Linked DNA regions of Homo sapiens: all the other regions are linked to region 4. The links are contacts of gene promoters, found by promoter capture Hi-C in human tissues and cell types (Jung and others, 2019). All regions are on one chromosome and are shown on one strand. Each heading gives the region's core, a stretch centred on a gene start or on the middle of the fragment in contact. The rest is flanking DNA. Distances are from core to core; before and after follow the strand shown.

Region 1 (3,353 bases), core at 468-2,967, 590 kb after region 4:
CACCATTAATCCCCTACTCTTTCTACACACAATAAACATTAGCTGTAGCTCAATTAAAAGCTACAGTTCACAGATGTTCACAATAATGATTGCCCTGCAATAGCATTCTTCTCATTAAGGTGTTTTGGAACCCTGCATATGCCGCCAACTCCTTCCCACCAGGGAACTGGGAAAGCGAGAAAAGCACAGGTACCAGGCATGCCTGGAATATGAAGCAGAAGACAGCTGCCCGCTCTTTCCAGAAAAGGTGCCTCAGCAGGATTTATCATCATGCTTTTTGCCAACACATCACCCCCTGCCCCCTCCTTGAGTCATTAACAGTAAAAATACAGGAGAACTCAACAGAGGCAGAGACCAAAAATGTGTCCCTGGAGCCTGGAGCCTGGAGCCATCTGGAAGAAACACAAGATTTCCCTGCGCCTGGGTGCTGCTGAACAGGAGCCAGCTTGGCTTTCACATGGAATGTGCTTTTCTGTCTTGTTTCTTCAGGTGCCCCAGACACTTCAAGCTATGTTTCCTTTGGGGAAATTAGTTGCATAACAGGGATATGGAAGGTACTGGAGAGGAATTTGAAGTAGTTCATTTGTATATAAAGTGCCAGTAGCTAGTACCCCATTCCTTGAAAAGTGAAGGGATGGTGAGCTGAGTGAGTAAGGTGCTTAAATCTCAAGAGACCGACTGTGTTCCACTTTCCCACCAATCAGAACTGAGCCTGCAGTGTACCCAGCCTGGGTCCTCCTGTCTCCTGGAGCTAGAGTGCGGCATTTGTAGGCAAAGTCATAACGCCACCTACGCGACACACACTGAGATTCTTTACACTATGGATGTGGCTGTAGTTACCATCTCACAATAGGTTTTTCCTTTAACCTGAATTTCATACTAATAAATAGTTCTGCCTCAGGAGCCTTTGGCAAAAATTATCATCAGCCTCATTGTGAAAACAGCTTTTCTTTTACAGAAGTAACCTGGCCAGGCGCAGTGGCATACACCTGTAATTCCAACACAGTGGGAGGATCTCTTGATGCCAAGAGTGCAAGACCAGCCTGGGCAACATAGTAAGACCCCTGTCTCTATAAAAATTTTTTTTCATGTTAAAAGAATTAAAAAAAAAAAACAAGTAACAAGGCCACTTCAAGACTAGGGATCTCAGCTCTAAAAATCCAGGGACTTCCTGGCCAGGCCTGATCTGTGTTGATGTTGAGAGGGGTTAATTTATTGGAATAAAATGATGCAGAAGCACAGAAGTGGGTCTGGAGCAGGAACATTGAATCAGGCGTTCTCAATCCACATAATACCTGGTTTCTGATTAGCTCAGTCACCACCCTGTCTTCTGTGACTGATGGGTAAGACTCTCCTAAAGGAATCTTTTAAAAAATAATCTGACAAGAAGGGCTCAAGCTTCCTATTATCTCTTCAGAGATTTGTTATTGTTACTAAGTGTAATGGGATGAAAACCTTCCAGATTCTATAAGACCAGATTTGAAAATCCAGTATTGCAACTACATCTAGGAAAGAGAAAATGCCAGTGCTGAATTAATTTGTTGAAATTAGGGATTGCCCTGTCTTCAAAAGAGACTATCAACCCAAGTATTTTTTTCAAATGTTTAAGAACAAAAGGAATTTTCATGGCAGAAAAAATCTAAATCTGGTTGGAACAGCTTTGCTTAACTTTTAACTAGGTAGTATAGTAGTGTTATTGTTCTAATAATTATCCCATTGCCTTGCAAATAACTGAGAGTTGGGACAGATAAAATAGTTGTAAGAATTTCTTTTAACTCTGTGTAGCATTTCCCACCCAGATTGGCATTAGGCACACTCTGCTGTTAGTGCTTCTCTCTCAAAACTGTGTCCCACTTGTCATGACACCTGCACCTTCATCCCCAGGAAAACACACCAACATACACATTCAAGGCAGAGTCCCTTCTGGTATGGTTGATCCTTAAATATGACTTCTTTCTCGTTTTCTTTTCCCTCTCTCTCTTCTTCACCCCAAACCATGTCTCTGACCCTGTCCCATTCCCTCTAGGACTTGCGCAGCCACAGCTGTGGGGCTAAAGACCGTGAGGACAATCGCTCTGTCCTTTCTGCGTATTCATCACAGAAGTAGAACTTGCTGCGTGCATATGCTGAAGGGAAAGAGTGCTTGCTGTGGGATTGTATCTCTGTAGGCCTCCAGTCTCAGGGACTTTTTCAGAAGGTCTGAGAGGTCAAAACTATTTCTGGGTAAAATAAGCATTGAAAGTCCAAGATGAGCAATGTATTTTAATATAATGGAGTGAAGAAAAAAGTGCATTTAAATTCTTTCACACTGCACTGTCATTAACCACTGGTAACTTACTTTTAAGAAACTACCATTTGTCACATTTTGAGGGTAGTATCAAAGAGGAATATTCTAAATTATCTGAAAATATTGCTAATATACCCCTCCTTTTTCTGACTACATGTCACTGTGAGGCTGGATTTTCTTCAATCAAAACAACATAACACAACAGATTGAATGCAGAAGCACATATAAGCATCCAACTGTCTTCTATTAACATAGACATTAAAAAGATTTGTACACATGTAAGACAATGCCACTTTCTCAACATTTTTGAAAAAGTTATTTTTTCATTAAGACATGTTATTTATTTATGTTAACATGAATTTACTATTATGTTAAATAAGTAAACATTTAAATTTTTTTTCAGCTTTAATTTCTAATATGGTAAATATTGATGGATATAACCCATATCAACAAAACCTTTTTGGGGTTCTCAGTAATTTTAAAGAGTGTAAAGAAGTCCTAAAACCCAAACATTTGAGACCCACAGTTCGAGAATATCTCTAGTCATTGCATCTTGACACCCAAAGCATTGGGCCTAAGGGTCACCCTTTCTGCTGTCCCAAGAGTTATCTCTGGTCTTACCTATTATTTTTGAGCAGTGCCTTGAGAAGAATTTCAGTCTGTTTGTAGGCCCCACTGCAGCTAATTCTGTACCTAAGACCTTCAGTCTTGGCTCTACAATTTCCTAAAATTGCATGAAACAAAAAAATCTGTGATTGTGTAATTGCACATTTTCTAGAGAGAATTTCCCTAGTTCTGTTAAGCCTCAAAGGACTTAGTGACCTATTCAGGTCAGAGACCACAGCTCTAACCAGAGAGCCCAGAGCTGCCCCTGCCCCTGCTTCCATGCTACATACTAAACACACCCAGGCATTCCTTAGGGGTAATATTGAACTCTTGGTCATCTAGGTTCTGTCAAAATTCATCTGACATATGGTTACATGGATTTTGAAGAAGAGAGAAGAAAAAGAATATGAAATTTTATAAATAACATGAAAAGAACAATATAAGGCCATTTTCACAAAAA
Region 2 (3,446 bases), core at 97-2,596, 610 kb after region 4:
GACAGAGAAAGACTTCAACTCAAAAAATAAAATTTAAAAATAAATAAATAAATTACCCATAATTCAAATGCTCAGTAGCCACATCTGGCTAGTGGCTACATATTGGAGAAAGGGAACTATACAATGTAACCTTGCTCAGTCGTTTCTTATTTTGTGTCTGACTTTCTTCTTTCTATTAGACTAAATGCATTTATTATACTTTTTTCTCTCCCACACTACCTCTGATGTTTGTTTGGATGTTTATTTTACTCCAGGTTTAACCAGAAATTTTTTTAAAAAGGGAAAAAAACCAAAACAAATAAACAGACACTGTTTAGAGTAAGAGTTAAAAAACAAAAACACTGAGGTACAAATTAAATAATTTACAGACTAAACCTCAAATCTTACCTGCAGATGTACAATTCTACCTTGGATTTCTTCCGATCATCCTAGAAAGAATTTAGACTATAGAGAATCTTAGAATGTAGCACATACTCATATGATTTTTTAAAGTCATTAATTTGACCAACTTATGAAGCCAAAAGGTCTCTCTACCACAAGGTAGCTAAGGTTTATTGAAGCAATTCAGCACAACTTATTTTTTATAGAGACTACTTAACTGAAATGACTGAAAGGATGTTATGTGCCTATAAATAAATCTATAAGAAGCAACAGTGCATGTAAGAGAGTAAGTTGTGGGAAGAACCAGTGCAGTTACCAAGTGAGATTAGATAGAAAATAAGTAGGACATTTCATGATCTATAGGATAGGATGTATTAGGTGTCAATGACAAATGGTTGTCTACAGCCATCTAAGTTACTGATGGTAATGATCCTAAAGTCTTTCTTTCTATACTAAACTACCTATAAATATTTTGTGAAAGGCTGGTTAATTATGCATAAGTGAGAAATCTGTTACAAATTTATCTCATGTGTGAGACACCATAATTTAATATGAGATAGTTGGGGATAATGTTAAGACTTTTTTTGAAAAATACACACATTATAAATCTGCTCACAAACGAAAAGAATATCCCAATCTTATACCAGTCTCAGGATCTGTGTCAGCATAAAATGTGGACACAGAGCTTCCTATAGATGCATATGAAGTCCTTCCTAGTAGAGAGGACTTGGTAGAGCACATGGGCTTTGTTCAGGCACCAGGAGCTTCAAAGCTGGTTTTTCCATTTACCAGCTGTGAATCCCTGAACAATCAAGTTAAGTGAAGTCTGAGGGTTTCTTTGTTTGTTGTTTAAATTTCTAAAATTGGTATAATAATAGTAAGTCCCTCCTACACATGGTTAGCTTGGCATATAGTAAGCACTTGATCTATGTTAGCTATTGTTGTTAATGATTTTAGGAACAAGGAAACGTTTTTGGCTACTTCTGAAAAGTCAGCAAAATCTCCTTATTCGTACTTAGAAAAAAGAACAAAATACGTACTGCAGTGGAAGTGGACAATACACATGAGCACATCATATAGTTTTCTGCATCCCTTATTTTGCCTTGACTGCCAAAACATTTCCTTAAACTGACAGATCCATGAAGATATAAGGACCTAATAGGTACATTTCAATTATCTCTTTAAAATTTTGAAACTAAGCATTACATCTTACCTTCCATCTTTTTATTTAAAAATAGAAAGAAGCAGAATAAACAGATGACATTTACAGTCATTCTGCATTGGTGTTCATCTCAGCGCCTCATCTATGGTATTGACTTACGACTTTTTCTTATTTTTTATTTATTTATTATTTTTTTTTTTTTTGAGACTGAGTCTCACTTTGTCTCCAAGGCTGGAGTGCAGTGGCATGATCTTGGTTCACTGCAACCTCTGCTTCCCGGGTTCAAGCAATTTTTCTGCCTCAGCCTCCTGAGTAGCTGGGACTACAGGCATGCACCACCACGCCCAGCTGATTTTTTGTATTTTTAGTAGAGAAAGGGTTTCGCCATGTTGGCCAGGCTAGTCTTTCAGGTGATCCACCCGCCATGGCCTCCCAAAGTACTGGGATTATAGGCATGAGCCACCGTGTCTGGCTGACTTTTCTATCTCAGCATTGTTTCTTAATTATGCAAGAATCATGATTTTGTTGGAATCTGTAAGCTATGTGAAAGATACAGATAATTATATCACATACATATACATCTGAAATCAGAAAAGACCAAGAAAGTTTGTCCTATAAAGTAATTAACTGTTTTGTTCTTTATGAATTAAATTAACAATCTATTTTTCAACATATACAGTCTAGCTCATTTTTCTATTTGTAGCCTGATTTTTTCCTCAGACTGCTGTGTAGTAAAGGATAATTAGAGACATTTACACTTATCATCCCAGCAAGAACATTGCTTTTGCTGCTAAGGAAATAGTCCAATCCAGTGTGATTTATATTTGCATAATATCCTGTTGCAATATTGAAAAACACTTTGCTGACAAACAGAGGAAGGTATTGAAATTGGGGTTTATAGAAGGGAAAGTGAGGTTATGAATAACCACTGTCAAAAAAAAAAAAAAACCTGTTACTTTATTCTATCAGTTTGCTCCAATGAAATTAAGCCTATTTTTTTTTTCCTTAGAAATGATTAACACAAAATGGAGGTAACTCTGTCAAGTATGTGCTGTGTGGCATTATTCAGACACCCAGCTGGCTTCTTAAGTCAGTGTTCTACTTTTTATCTGGTTGGGTGTAATGCCAAGGAGAAACAGCATTTTAAAATTCAATTTTGCCTTCTCGACCTCCTGTGAATCAAGAGTCAACCAAAACAAGTCTTGAAAAGCTATTTTTTACAAAGCAAGGACACATTTCCACAGGAAAATAAAATGAAATGTATAATCATTATAAAATACCTCTGTGCCCAGCTTAAAAAACATGTTAATGAACTTCGTGATTTAATTATACTCATTTGACTAATTCCAACTGACATCAGCCTTACAACTTTAAAAGTATAATTTCAAGTCACAATATTTTGTTCTCATTTTAAGCATTCAGATTCACTTTGAGAAGCTATAAGGTGACTAACCATCCCAGTTTTCCCAGGACTGAGGGGCTACATTCCGGAGAGGCAAGAATTTTTTCTTTTGAGACAGTGTGTCTCACTCTATCACCCAGGCTGGAGTGCAGTGGCACAACTCAGCTCACTGCAACCTCTGCCTCCTGGGTTCAAGCGATTCTCATGCTTCAGCCTCCTAAGTAGCTGGGACTACAGGTGCCCGCCACAACGCCTGACTAATTTTTGTATTTTTAATAGAGACAGAATTGGCCAGGCTGGTCTCAAACTCCTGGCCTCAAGTGATCCACCCTCGTCAGCCTCCCAAAGTCTGGGATTACAGGCATGAGCCACTGTACCCGAGAGGCAAGACTTTTAATGCTAAAACAATAGCAGACTGGGGTGACTGGTACATCATAACATGAAACTCAAAGAAAGGTCTTAGGAGAGCTCAGTATTTAAAATAAAGTCTTCTGCAAAATG
Region 3 (3,093 bases), core at 89-2,588, 870 kb after region 4:
TGAACATGTGCATAATTATTTATTATATGATTATATTATGTCATGGCTGTGTGCTCAGTTGGTTCTCAAAAAGCCTGGTCATTCTAAGGGCAAGTCCCGTTAGCCCCAGGACTCTGCTTTGTGAAGAGAGATATAACCTTTGAATGTCCACGGCAGGGTCCCATGGCCCACTGCAAATGATTTCTGACACAGAATATAGGTAAAATCTCTTAATGGTGCTGTTAGGAAGGAAGAAAGGTGCTTATGGACAATTAAAGGCAAATGCGTAATAGAGTCTGGTCTGATACCTCTACAGCTGTCACAGAAGCATGTGGTCCAAAAGATTTGTGAGTTTACAAAGGAAATTACTTTGCAAAACAAAAGCATTTATTTTTGATGATGCTTACACTCAAGAACTCAGTTTTTTAATGTTACTGTGAAGCAGATGCTAAACTGCAAAAATTAACTAGCAATTGCATTTCAGAAAGCAATAATATCCAACTCCTTTATTAAGTTAACTGTTAAGTGAACAAAGAAAAAGAAGAGTATTTCTTCCATTAGCAAAGCAAATAGGACATCTGTGCAGAAGACAAAATTTGGTGGGTAAAATTCATTGCTGTGGAAGCAATGAATGACTTGTAGGTACAAAAAGTTTTGTATTCCAGATCTTAAATTGAATAGGATCTCACAGTTTTTAAGAATTTCTTTCCTTCTCTTTTTTATTCTTTGTACATTTACTTCCTTTCTTTTCTTTTCTTTGTTTCTTTTTTCTTTTTCCTTTTTTCTTTCTCTTCCTTTCATCTTTCCCTCTCTCTTCCCTCTCTCCTTCCCTCCCCCCTTCCTCCCTCCCTCCCTTCCTTTCTTCCTTCCTTCCTCCTTTCTTTCCTTCCTTCCTCTCTCTCTCTTCCTGTCATTTTCCTCCTTCATTTCTCCTTTTTGATTAATTTTGTTTCACTTAACCCTGTTTTGGAGACACCAAAATGCAAAAACAAAGAATGAATTTCAAAGTAACAGCAAGGGAAGAAGAACTCGGTCTATGAGCCTCACTGTCTTGACTTTCTGCTCTGTAAGCTGTGAGGTATTTGGGTTCCAGTTTGACAGGTCCCATCACCTAAAGTCAGCCCAGAGATCAGGATAGTATTGAGCCTGAGAGCACCACAGAGTGAGCATTACATGTTATCAAGCTGTTATTTCTGTAGTGTTTTTTGTTTGCTTGCCTTTAAAGTCACCCCGAGTTTTTATTAAATTCTCCTTAGAATTACTACAGAAATCAGCCTGGCATGGTGGCTCATCCCTGTATTCCCAGCACTTTGAGAGGCTGAGGTGGGCAGATCACTTGAGCTCAGGAGTTTGAGACCAGCCTGGCCAACATGGTGAAACCCGTCTCTACTAAAAATACAAAAATTAGCCAGGTATGGTGGCTCATGCCTGTAATCCCAGCTACTCAGGAGGCTGAGGCAGGAGAATCACCTGAACCCGGGAGACAGAGGTTGCAGTGAGCTGAGATTGTGCCACTGCAATCCAGCCTGGGCAACAGAGCAAGACTCTGTCTCAAAAAAAAAAAAAATTACTACAGGGATCCTAGCTGGACTCAGGCATAACATTAAAGGGAATCAGTGTCCCCTTGTCCTCAGCAGTGGTGAGTGGTGGCAGCAGCCAAGGTGAAGGTGTCTTGTGTACTAGCTTTAGGAATATAAGGCGTGGTCACCTCTTCCTAGGTAAAGAGTCACCCTACATTCCGTACTTCAGAGCATTGAGTTTTACTTTTTTTATTTTTTCTTTGAGACGGAGTCTTGCTCAGTCACCCAGGCTGGAGTGCAGTGGCATGATCTCAGCTCACTGCAACCTCCGCCTCCCGGGTTCAAGCAATTCTGCCTCAGCCTCCTGAGTAGCTGGGATTACAGGCGCCTGCCACCATGCCCGGCTAATTTTTGTATTTTTAGTAGAAACGAGGTTTTACCATATTGTCCAGGCTGGTCTTCAACTCTGGACCTCGTGATCCACCCGACTCAGCCTCCCAAAGTGCTGGGATTACAGGCATGAGCCACCGCGCTCAGCCTGAGTTTTAGTTTTTATTATGAGAGGCAATGGTTTTGCTCCACAGGCATTACCCAGCTTAGAAAGCCTTTAGTTGTAAACTAAGTAAGGTTCGTCTGCGTGGAGTTCCCCACTTCTCTCTCAGAAGCTTCTATCCAATCCATTGCTGCCTTCCTTCTGGGCGTCTCTTAGGGGACAGCTACACTCTTCACCATTTTTGACCTCCTCTCCATCATTATGAAAGGAGGACTCTTTTTCTTTGGGAGAGGCTGTAGGGAGAGTGTGTCAGATGCCATAGCTTATCCTAATTCAGGTTCTTCTTACGGACCCCAGTGATGATTAATTTTAGGTCAATTGGCTGAGTCACGGTGCCCAGCTATTTGGTCAAACGTTCAGGATGTTTCTGTGGGGACATTTTTCTTAAAGGAGATTAACGTTTAAACTGATGGACTTTGAGTAAAGCAAATGGCTCTCCATAATGTGGGTGGGCCTCTTCTAATCAGTTGAAGGCCTGATAGACCAAAGACTGACCTCCTCTGAGCAAGAAGGAATTAGCAATTGTTTTCTATATGCCAACAGCGAACAATGTGAAAAAGAAATTTTAAAAAGTAACCCCATTTACAATAGCCATACCTAAAAATAAATACTTAGGAATCAACCTAAGCAAAGAAGTAAAAGATTGCTATAATAAAAGTTATAAGACACTGAGGAAAGAAATTATGAGGACACCAAAAAATGGAAAAATATTTCACGGTCGTGGATTAGAATAATCAATATTGTTAAGGTGTCCATATTACCCAACATAACCTATAGATTCAATGCAATCCCTATCAAAATACCAATGACATTCTTCACAGAAATACAAAAACAATCACAAAATGTATATGGAACCACAAAAGACCTCAAATGGCCAAAGCAGTGTTGCACAAAAAGAACAAAACTGGAGGAATCACATTACCTGGCTTCTAATTATACTATAAATGTTATACTACAGAGCTACAGTAACCAAAACAGCATGGTACTGGCATAAAAACAGACACAAGGATCAATGGAACAGAATAAAGAACCTGAAAACAA
Region 4 (3,266 bases), core at 37-2,536:
AATTTATCTGTTGATGGACACTTACATTGCTTCCAGATCTTGTCTATTGTGAACAGAGCTGCAATAAACATGGCAGTGCAGGAATCTCTTCAAGATACTGATTTCTTTTTTGGGGGTATATACCTAGCAGTGGGATTGCTGGATCAGATGGTAGCTCTATATTTAGTTTTCTGACAAACCCCAATACTGTTCTCCATAGTGGCTGCATTAATTCACATTCTCACCAGCAATGTAGGAGGGTTCATTCTCTTTTCTTCACATCCTTGCCAGCATTTGTTATTGCCTGTCTTTTGGATAAAAGCCATTTTAACTAGGGTGAGACTTTATGATTTCTTGGTGAACAAGGAAAAGTGTTTAAGCTGTCCCCACCCTTTGATGGGTATGTTCTCTCTTCACGTGCGTAGGTTGTTGATGAAAGTCTAAGCGATTAATTTAAGCCATGTCAGAATAAACCAAAGTGAGGGTCCCAGCAGAATCATTCACTCTAGAATGCTCGGCTTTCTGGACCTCCCAGTGAGAACAGTGAGAAACTCCAGAGTTTTATGGATTTTAAGAATAGCTCTTCTGAGACTCTTTGGACAGGGTGCAAAGGAAAATTGTCTCCTCAGGTTGGGGGATGAGGGGGACTGTGAGATAAAGTACTGATAGATAAACTCCAGGTATGCACCTACTATGCTCCCCAAGCAATCTGCCATGTCCTTCACATGTCCTCCAGGGTGGCCCTGTGAAAAGCATTACTCCATCCCTTCAGCCCTCAACCTTGCTCGGCTTTCTAGAGTCTGTCTCATGCCGGCAGACACCCCATAGTTATTATTCTCTCTGCCCTCAGCAACATTTACCAGTTAGGGGGAAAATAAAGCCAGAAAATTGTTGCTATGGGCTCTGTTTTGTGGAAGTTAAAATGCTAGAGCAAGAATCTGATTGCTTGATAGCTCCATCTCTCTCTCTCTCTCCCTCCTACCCTCCTACCCCCCCACAGTTTCTCCTTCTTTTCCTCTCCCCTCCACCTCCTTCCCCCACCCCGCTCCCCCACATTTTCCTACTCCTCTCCCCTCTCTCCACTGGCCTCCCGGTCCTGCCCCCACATTGGGCTGGAGGAGAGCCTTACAGGTTGTCAATGAAACATGGAATTATTTCCTTTGATGGCTTAGATAATAGTAGGAGCCAAAGCAATGAGTGAGGTCGGCTGAAACCAATGCAGTCCTGCCCGGGACTGGAGAGCCAATCGCAAGAGCAGAGGGCGGGGCGTCGGAGCCAGCAGATAATTGCTAAGTGCATCGCTAGCACAGTTGGTCCGAGCTGCCGAAAGGTCTGGTCGCAGAGACAGGAACGTGTAATCCTCAGCGTGCTCCAGCCCACAGCTTCGCTCTACTGCTCGGCAGGGCAGCTGGCCTCTGGGCACCGGCGGCCCCTCTGCCTCGCGGAAAAGGTACCTCTGCCTGCGTCCCGGGGGTGCAGCGCCTGCGTCTCCATTGCCAGTGGCTTTGCAGTTTAGCCTAGGTGGAGGGATTGCAGAAAGAAAAGTTTCTGGGAGGGAATGTGATAAAGGTGGGAAATCACTGTCTTTTGTTGGGAGGAAAACAAGCGGACAATTTGGGAAACTTCTGCGCTGGCAAGAAATGGGCTTGTTTACTACTCCTAATTAGCTGCGCTCAGGTCTGTCTAAATAGGTCTGGTCTCAGGCTAGGGTGTCTGCAGGGCTGGGGTGGAGATTCGGGTGTGCTGGGTGAAAGAAGTTGGATCCCAGGGTGTGCTGTTTCCTGGTGCACCCATCATGGATAGGCTGGTTCCGAGAGAAACGTGATTGGTTGTTTGTGTTTTCCGCTATAGGGTCTGTCCCCTTCGTATTACCTTGATCTGCCTTCCCCAAACTATTGTGACCTTCAACTGGAGTCCTTCCTCAAACTTCTGCCTCCTTCCTGCCTGTCTCAGTTCATTTTATTTGGTGGAAGGAGACATTCCCCGGGGTGGGTGGGTGAGGATGGTCTATTCTGTTTGACCTGGTGGGCACCTACGTGACAACTTGGTGACACGCCAGCAAAACAGTTCTCAGAGGAGAGGAAATCACATAATTAATTAGCTCCCGAAAACTCTGGAAGACTTTCCAGGCTTGGGGTATCCTGAAAAAAAAAAAAAAAGAAAAAGCCAAAAAACGGGATAGAGAGTTCGGTTTGGTACCATGTGAAGCTTACACCCTTGTCCCCAGAAGGGGTGCCTGGCCCGGAGCATCCCCGCAGCTCTGGGAGGTGGAGGCTGGTGGAGGGGGTGGCTCCGTGTAGGTGCGCAGGTTGTTTTGGTGCACAGGTGCATTTGTGGCAGAGGTGGTGCTGAAGTCACCATCCACACTGCTTCTGCTAACTGCTCTTGAAGTAAAACAGCTCACCCCGGCAGGCAGCTGGTTCAGCCCAGAAGCACCCTTGAGCATTCTAAATCGCGAGACCTCAGGGGCCTCTCTTGCTCTGAGACCCTTGGGAAACTCCTTTCTCCCCCTGCCTCCTCCGCCTTTGGCTTCTGCTAAAGGGAGATATTAGGTAGGTGAGTCACTAGGAAGCAGGGACCCATGGGGAAGCAGGCGATGTGCTTGGTCTCGAACTTTCTTCCTCTTCTGCGAAGGCAGCTTCTGCTTGTGTGCCCACCGCACTTCACCAGTTGCGCTGCCTACCTGCGGGATACTCTGAAGCTGATAGTCTGGGGGTGATCTTCCAAGTCCTAGGGGCATTGAAGAGTTTAGATGATTTTCATCCCTCTGATTTCCGTTAAACCCGCAGCTGGGGAGTTCGATTCCCAGTCCTGACAAGACTGCATGTTCTGGGAGGGATTCTCCAGTGACACCTCTTCCTCAGGGCACCCTTCCACGGAGATGCAGATGACAGTCTTGATTCTCCAGCTCCACAAATCCCTTCCACTTTTTAATTCTTATTTTCTTTAACCACCACAACAGATTCTCCTCCACCTCCTGTAGGCAGCTATTTTGGGTGGGAACTGTGATTATTGAAACTCTATTCACAATGGTTAAAAAAATGCCTGCCCACTTTTTTTTTGGGGGGGGTGTCAAAATACCATCAGCGTTCTCTTCTGTACTTCCTATCTGACAGTAAACAAAACAATTTTGCAGCCCTGCCAATTATAATCTTTTTGTGTTTGGGGGGCCTGGAGCGGAAGCTGAACTTTTCCCAGCCGGTGGGCATGGTTAGTCATGGACGTCGTCCTCTGTGGCCTCTCCAGGGCACGTGACCCCCAGGGAGCCCAGGAGGGGCAGCCCCCAG

What was found. The method cuts DNA at HindIII sites, captures the fragments that hold promoters and counts their contacts. A contact is called where the count stands out against the background at its distance.
Region 1: a fragment that was not itself captured here is called in contact with the fragment with the promoter of ZMAT4 in region 4 in 3 of the 25 tissues and cell types used here (IMR-90 fibroblasts, bladder and mesenchymal stem cells).
Region 2: a contact is called between a fragment that was not itself captured here and the fragment with the promoter of ZMAT4 in region 4, in 5 of the 25 tissues and cell types used here (IMR-90 fibroblasts, bladder, dorsolateral prefrontal cortex and 2 more).
Region 3: a fragment that was not itself captured here is called in contact with the fragment with the promoter of ZMAT4 in region 4 in 2 of the 25 tissues and cell types used here (dorsolateral prefrontal cortex and mesenchymal stem cells).

Annotation. Positions count from the first base shown.
Region 1 is chr8:40,302,389-40,305,741 of GRCh38, reverse strand. No RefSeq gene overlaps it. Among named protein-coding and RNA genes, the nearest start is that of SIRLNT, 39 kb to the left of the region's middle. The HindIII fragment of the contact is 6,520 bases long and covers 1-3,353 here.
Region 2 is chr8:40,282,465-40,285,910 of GRCh38, reverse strand. No RefSeq gene overlaps it. Among named protein-coding and RNA genes, the nearest start is that of SIRLNT, 59 kb to the left of the region's middle. The HindIII fragment of the contact is 7,039 bases long and covers 1-3,446 here.
Region 3 is chr8:40,029,826-40,032,918 of GRCh38, reverse strand. No RefSeq gene overlaps it. Among named protein-coding and RNA genes, the nearest start is that of LINC02866, 73 kb to the left of the region's middle. The HindIII fragment of the contact is 6,298 bases long and covers 1-3,093 here.
Region 4 is chr8:40,895,846-40,899,111 of GRCh38, reverse strand. ZMAT4 (zinc finger matrin-type 4) reads left to right here and starts at 1,286. Exons shown (of 7, transcript NM_024645.3): 1 at 1,286-1,429. The HindIII fragment of the contact is 9,161 bases long and covers 1-3,266 here.